2 separate regions of the Homo sapiens genome follow, and region 1 is linked to region 2. The links are contacts of gene promoters, found by promoter capture Hi-C in human tissues and cell types (Jung and others, 2019). All regions are on one chromosome and are shown on one strand. The core of a region is centred on a gene start or on the middle of the fragment in contact, and the rest is flanking DNA. Distances in the headings are between cores, read along the strand shown. Region 1 has its middle 74 kb from the start of MIR4771-2. Region 2 holds the start of BUB1 (BUB1 mitotic checkpoint serine/threonine kinase).

Region 1 (2,726 bases), core at 182-2,681, 1.0 Mb after region 2:
GCCAGTAGGAACATAAAAATCTACAGCCACTCTGGGGAATAGTTTGGCAGTTTCTTAAAAAGCTAAACATACCCTTACCTTATAACACAGTAATTGCAATTCTGGGTATTTATCCCAGAGAAATAAAAACTTATGTCTGCACAAAAACCTTTATACAAATATTCATTGTTACTTTATTTATAATAATAGCCAAAAACTGGAAACAACCAAAATATCCTTCAATGAGTGAATAGTTGAGCAAACTGTAGTATATCCATGCCATGGATGTATTAGTCAGGGTTCTCTAGAGAAACAGAACCAATAGGTGTGCATCTGCATGCATGTGCGAGCGTGTGTGTGTGTGTGTAAAGAGAGAGAGAGATTTATTTTAAGAATTGCCTCACATGATTATGGAGGCTGGCAAGCCCAAAATCTGCAAGGTAGGCTGCCAGGCTGGAATGAGTTGAGGTTGCAGCTCAAGTCTCAAAGCAGTCAGCTGGCAGAATTCCCTCTTCCTTGGGTAACATCAGTCTTTGTTCTATTAAGGCCTTCAAATGATTGGATGAGGCCCACCCACATTATAGAGAATAGTCTGCTTTACTCAAAGTCTACCGATGTAAATGTTAATCTCATCTTAAAAATACTTTCACAGAGACCGGGCGCAGTGGCTCACGCCTGTAATCCCAGCACTTTGGGAGGCCGATGTGGGTGGATCACGAGGTCAGGAGATTAAGACCATCCTGACTAAAGTGGTGAAACCCCGTCTCTATTAAAAAATACAAAAAATTAGGCAGGCGTGGGCTGGGCACGGTGGCTGACGCCTGTAATTCCAGCACTTTGGGAGGCCGAGGTGGGCGGATCACAAGGTCAGGAGATCAAGACCATCCTAACACGGTGAAACCCCGTCTCTACTAAAAATACAAAAAATTAGCCTGGCGCAGTGGCGGGCGCGTGTAGTCCCAGCTACCTCAGGAAGCTGAGGCAGGAGAATGGTGTGAACCCCGGAGGCAGAGCTTGCAATGAGCCGAGATTGCGCCACTGCACTCCAGCCTGGGCAACAGAGCGAGACTCTGTCTCAAAAAAAAAAAAAAAAATACTTTCACAGAAACATCCAGAATAACGCATGACCAAATATCTGGGTACCATGACCTAGCCAAGTTGGCACATAAAATTAATGACCACCATGGCGTACTACTCAGCAACAAAAAAGAATGGACTATTGATATATGCCACAACTTGGATGGGTCTCTAGGGAATCCTGCTGAGTGAAAAAAAACAAAAAAACAAAAAACCCAGTCTCCAGCTGGGCATGGTGGCTCACACCTGTAATTCAAGCACTTTGGGAGGCCAAGGCCGGCAGATCACTTGAGGCCAGGAGTTTGAGACCAGCCTGGCCAACATGATGAAACCCCATCTCTACTGAAAATACTATATAAAAATTAGCCAAGAGTGGTGGCACATGCCTGTAATCCCAGCTACTTGAGAGACTGAGGCACGAGAGTTGCTTTAACCCAGGAGGCAGAGGTTGCAGTGAGTCAAGATCACGCCACTGCACTCCAGCCTGGGCAACAGAGCCAGACTCTGTCTCAAATAAATAAATTAATTAAATAAAATCCAGCCTCAAAAGGTCATATATTGTGTGATTCCATTTATATAACATTTCTAAAATATAGACACGGAGAACAGATTAGTGGTTACGGGGGTTGGGGACGATGGGGGCGGAGGGGGTGTGACTGCGGAGGGGAAGCGCAGTGTCCCTTTGTGGCGACGAATCAGTTCTGTGTCCTGATTGTGGTAGTGGTTTCAGTGCTCTCCACATGTAATAAAATGTCATAAAACTATACACACACAATATACCAATGCCAGGTTCCTGGTTTGGGTACTGTACTATAATTATATAAGATATAACCAATGGGGGAACCTGGGTGGAGGGTACCCAGGACCTCTCTGTACTATGTTTACAACTTCATATGAGTCTATAATTATTTCAAAGTAAAAATTTAAAAAAACAAGAAGATACATAGCAGAGAGTCAATATACACATTTTCAACAATAAACATGTAGACCTCCTGAAAAAAACAAGCTTTTTTTTTTCCTTTTCCTCTTAACAAGGATGTGCACAACTTTTCCCTTGGAAGGAACTTAGACACACACCAATTAACCCCGTGATGCCTGTCAGTAATGTTGGAGGAAGAGAGACAGGGCCTCTCAGGTGCAAGAATTAGGATGTCCCCAGCCTGAATGCCAAGAAACTCCTGTGGCAGCCAAGCCCCCAGGGTGTCAGACCCCTGAAGGGAAGTCTGAGCTCCTCTTTCTTTCCTTAAGTGATCCTGGGAGAGGTCACAGGGCAGCAGGGCCGGGAAAATGGCACGTGGAAAGCGGTCACTTCAGAACCAGAAGGTGTTCTTTTCCATCTCATCACCTTCTTAAGACAAACCACTTTCCCTCCTTTTCAGTTCTATCTGAACCAACAGCTACAAATAAATAAACACCACTGTTTGCAAAGGCCACAGAGATTAATATTATTATTAATATTAATAGTATTAATGGAGTCTAATCATAGTAAATACATAGAGATGAAAGATCTTTCCCAAAGCAAGTTATTGATAACTATTAGGGTTGACAACTGAAAGATACATTTGCAATTTATTTTTGAAGCCACATAGATTCATTTCAGCCGACCCTCTAGTTATGGGACTAGACCACATTCAAGTTGCCTTTCAAATAGTACTGTAAAATTAAAATTT
Region 2 (2,981 bases), core at 462-2,961:
TGTGTAGGTGCAGCAATAAGAAACAGGCTCTCTGTCGCATCTTGCTTGTAGGTGGGCATGTGCTCAATTCCTGCCAAGGGAATTATCTACCAAAACTGGACTGATTTGCTTTTGATCCAACAAACCGCTTCTGCAGATCTAGAAGACACATACACATGTGTATCCGCAAAATGTTATGTACAAGATTTTTCACCGTGCCACTATTTGAAACAGATTGTCAACAACCTGTGTTGACTGCTTAGATCAATTAGGGTACATGAAGTATTACACAGCTGTAAAAAAAGAATAAGAAAGAACTTTATGTATTGGTAGAGATCTCCAGGGATATTGTTAGGCAAAAGAGCAGCGTATATATATACTGTTATATTTTATGTGTGGTAAAGGCAAAAAATGTATACAAACGTGCAGACATTTAATATATTATAATAATGTAAATATTTATATTTCCAAAAAGAAACTAGAAAAACGGTTACATGTGACAGAGTGGGACAGTAGTCAGGTACAGGAGTTCTCGGTAAATACTGTTCTAAATCTTCTTTTAGTCATATAAACGCATTGCTTATTTTTAAAACTAAAAAAAATAATAATTCTGAAGTTTGAATGTCTCTCATGTCTTATAGCAGAGGGACAAATCCCTATTTCAGAACCTTTCTTCCAAAATATGTCTAGTAGGCTCGCCCAAGGTAAACATTTCATATTCTAACACCAACCACATTTCTCTAGTAAAATGACCTAAATGCACTGTAATAGTAAAACATCCAGTTCATTAAAGCACATTAATCTTTAGTAAGTCAAAACAGGACCAGGAATATCTGCTTTACCTTTAAAAAAGGGGCGGGGGACTTCTGAAAGAAAATAATTTGCTGGCTAGGTTGAAGGTTACAGAAAAAGTCTTAGAGCAAATGGATTTTTGTTTTGACTGCATTTAACAATCTCGGTCTTCTGATCGCAAAGAACTGATAAAACGGACCAGTTTTACTTCCTGAACCTATGACTTAATTGTTTTAAATGCCTTTAAGTAACAGTCTGGGTAAATCATCTAAGTCATAAAACAAAGGCGTGGGAACTTTAAGTAAAAAGTGAGTGATGTTAGCAGGTTGGCACACATCACTCAATAATGAGCAAAGCTATTTTTTTTCAATTTTTTTTTCTTAAAGTACCCTGTATTCAAAGACTTTTAAAAAATAGCAGTGAGATTATGGATAGGAGAGCAACTTTAAATTCGTTCCCTACTGTAGTCGAATTGTTAAATACGTGACTTTGAAAACGTATCACAAAATCTAAACACAAGGTTCAGGATTTTTGTTAGGTTGAACTGTCAGGAGGGGATTCCTTACAAAGAATAAACGAGAGCTCTGAGGGCCTAACGAATTATCCAGATTGCTCCAAACGGCCACCGCGGCGCAGATGGGCGGACAAGCGCCGGGCCTCAGCGGAACCCAAGGTGCCGGAGCCCTCCCCGGCTCTCAAGCAGCCCACGGCCTTGCTGGGTGGGACACATTCCAAACCCAGGAAGGGGGCGAAGGGGGCAAAAGAAGGCAGGTCTGGGGCGGGCCGGGCCCGAACCCCAGGCGCCCCAGCCCCCTGGGCTTCCCCACCCCACCAGACGGACACTTACTGAAGGACATTTTCCGGGGTGTCCATGGCCAGAGGACGCTGGCCGGCAGCGGCCAAACCTGAACCGCAAACTAGAAGCCGCCGCCGATTCGAATACCCCGCGCAGCCGCAGTCGGCTCGCCGAACGTTTCAGGGCGCCTGCCCATTGGTGGCGGCGGCAGAAGGTTGGCCAATCACCGGGGCCGTTGCTCGGAGGTCAAGTCCCACCTCCCTCCCTTGAGCCAGTAGCTCCTCCCACTTCCCGTGGTTTTCGGTTGAACCGAAACCTGGCCGTTGGCTGAGCGAGCGCGGGGTGTTTGGGATGCGGCACGGCGAGGGGGAGCAGGCTTGGCTCGGGCGTAGGGAATTGGTTTTTTTGTTTTAGCTATCCAGGTTGTGACTGGTTTACATAATTACACGATTAAGCCATCATTGTAGGAAAGGCTTTGCAGGAGAAAAATGTCTTAACTGGAGGTCTTTGAGACAGAAAAACCCTGCCTCAGCCCTTGGGTCCTGAGAGTCGCGTTTCTTCTCCCCTTCGCTTAAATATGTAAACCAGAATCATTATGTTTGGTTCATGGAACGGAGGAAAAAAATCCGTGTGCAGGGTCGAGACTGTCGTGGCGGAAGCCGCAGCACCCGGGAGGCAGGTGGGGAGAAAAAACGGGACCTGCTGCCGGGGACCCCTCCCGCTTTCTGGCAGTTTTCTATTCAGCGTCCTCGGCTGTGAGAAAACATCCCAGATGCTGAAACCAATAGTCTTAGCCCAGAATCTCAAACGCCGTGGCAAAGAGGGAGTGACGACGGCCTGTGGAAAAACCTGAGGAGTTTTGGGCTTAGCGCCTTCATGTAGAGGGGACGTGGAGGCGGGGAGGGCGTTCTAGGGTCGGCTGCGTAATTATACGAGGCACTGGAAAGTGATGGGTTAGTGTCCTTGGAGTAGACCCCTGGGTTTTATTGAACTGATCTGAAAGGCTGGGCCCTGAGCCACACAGGGGACCTGTCAAACAGCTTCAAGCGGAAGATGGGGCTCACGGGACTGGACTCTCTCTGCAGCCAGCTGTAATTAACACAAAAGCAGAAGAGTTTGGGTAGATTATAGAATGCCAGCTTTGAACATCTTTTGGGGGACAGGGCACTCTGGGAGACCAAGTTCTTAGACACCATAAAATCAAAAATAGACACCTCTTTGTAGAGGAGTCCAGATGTCTAAAGAGGAAATATGTAATAGGCTGATGTTTCTTTTGTTTTTTGTTTGTTTGTTTTTTGAAAAGTTAAAATACTAAGTTTATAAAGTGAAAAAGTTACAGTAAGCTAAGGTTGACTTATTGGAAAAAATGTGCTTATACTATGGAATGAGACCACCACTTCTCCTGTTGTCCCTC

Evidence for each region. The method cuts DNA at HindIII sites, captures the fragments that hold promoters and counts their contacts. A contact is called where the count stands out against the background at its distance.
Region 1: a contact is called between a fragment that was not itself captured here and the fragment with the promoter of BUB1 in region 2, in 1 of the 25 tissues and cell types used here (aorta).

The regions. Positions count from the first base shown.
Region 1 is chr2:111,696,003-111,698,728 of GRCh38, forward strand. No RefSeq gene overlaps it. Among named protein-coding and RNA genes, the nearest start is that of MIR4771-2, 74 kb to the right of the region's middle. The HindIII fragment of the contact is 6,648 bases long and covers 1-2,726 here.
Region 2 is chr2:110,676,352-110,679,332 of GRCh38, forward strand. BUB1 (BUB1 mitotic checkpoint serine/threonine kinase) reads right to left here and starts at 1,712. Exons shown (of 25, transcript NM_004336.5): 1 at 1,619-1,712. The coding sequence starts at 1,644. LOC105373554 (a long non-coding RNA gene) reads left to right here and starts at 1,861. Exons shown (of 2, transcript XR_923189.4): 1 at 1,861-2,246. RefSeq lists enhancers at 968-1,888, 1,889-2,809, 2,322-2,381, 2,642-2,731 and a silencer at 1,412-1,811. The HindIII fragment of the contact is 12,584 bases long and covers 1-2,981 here.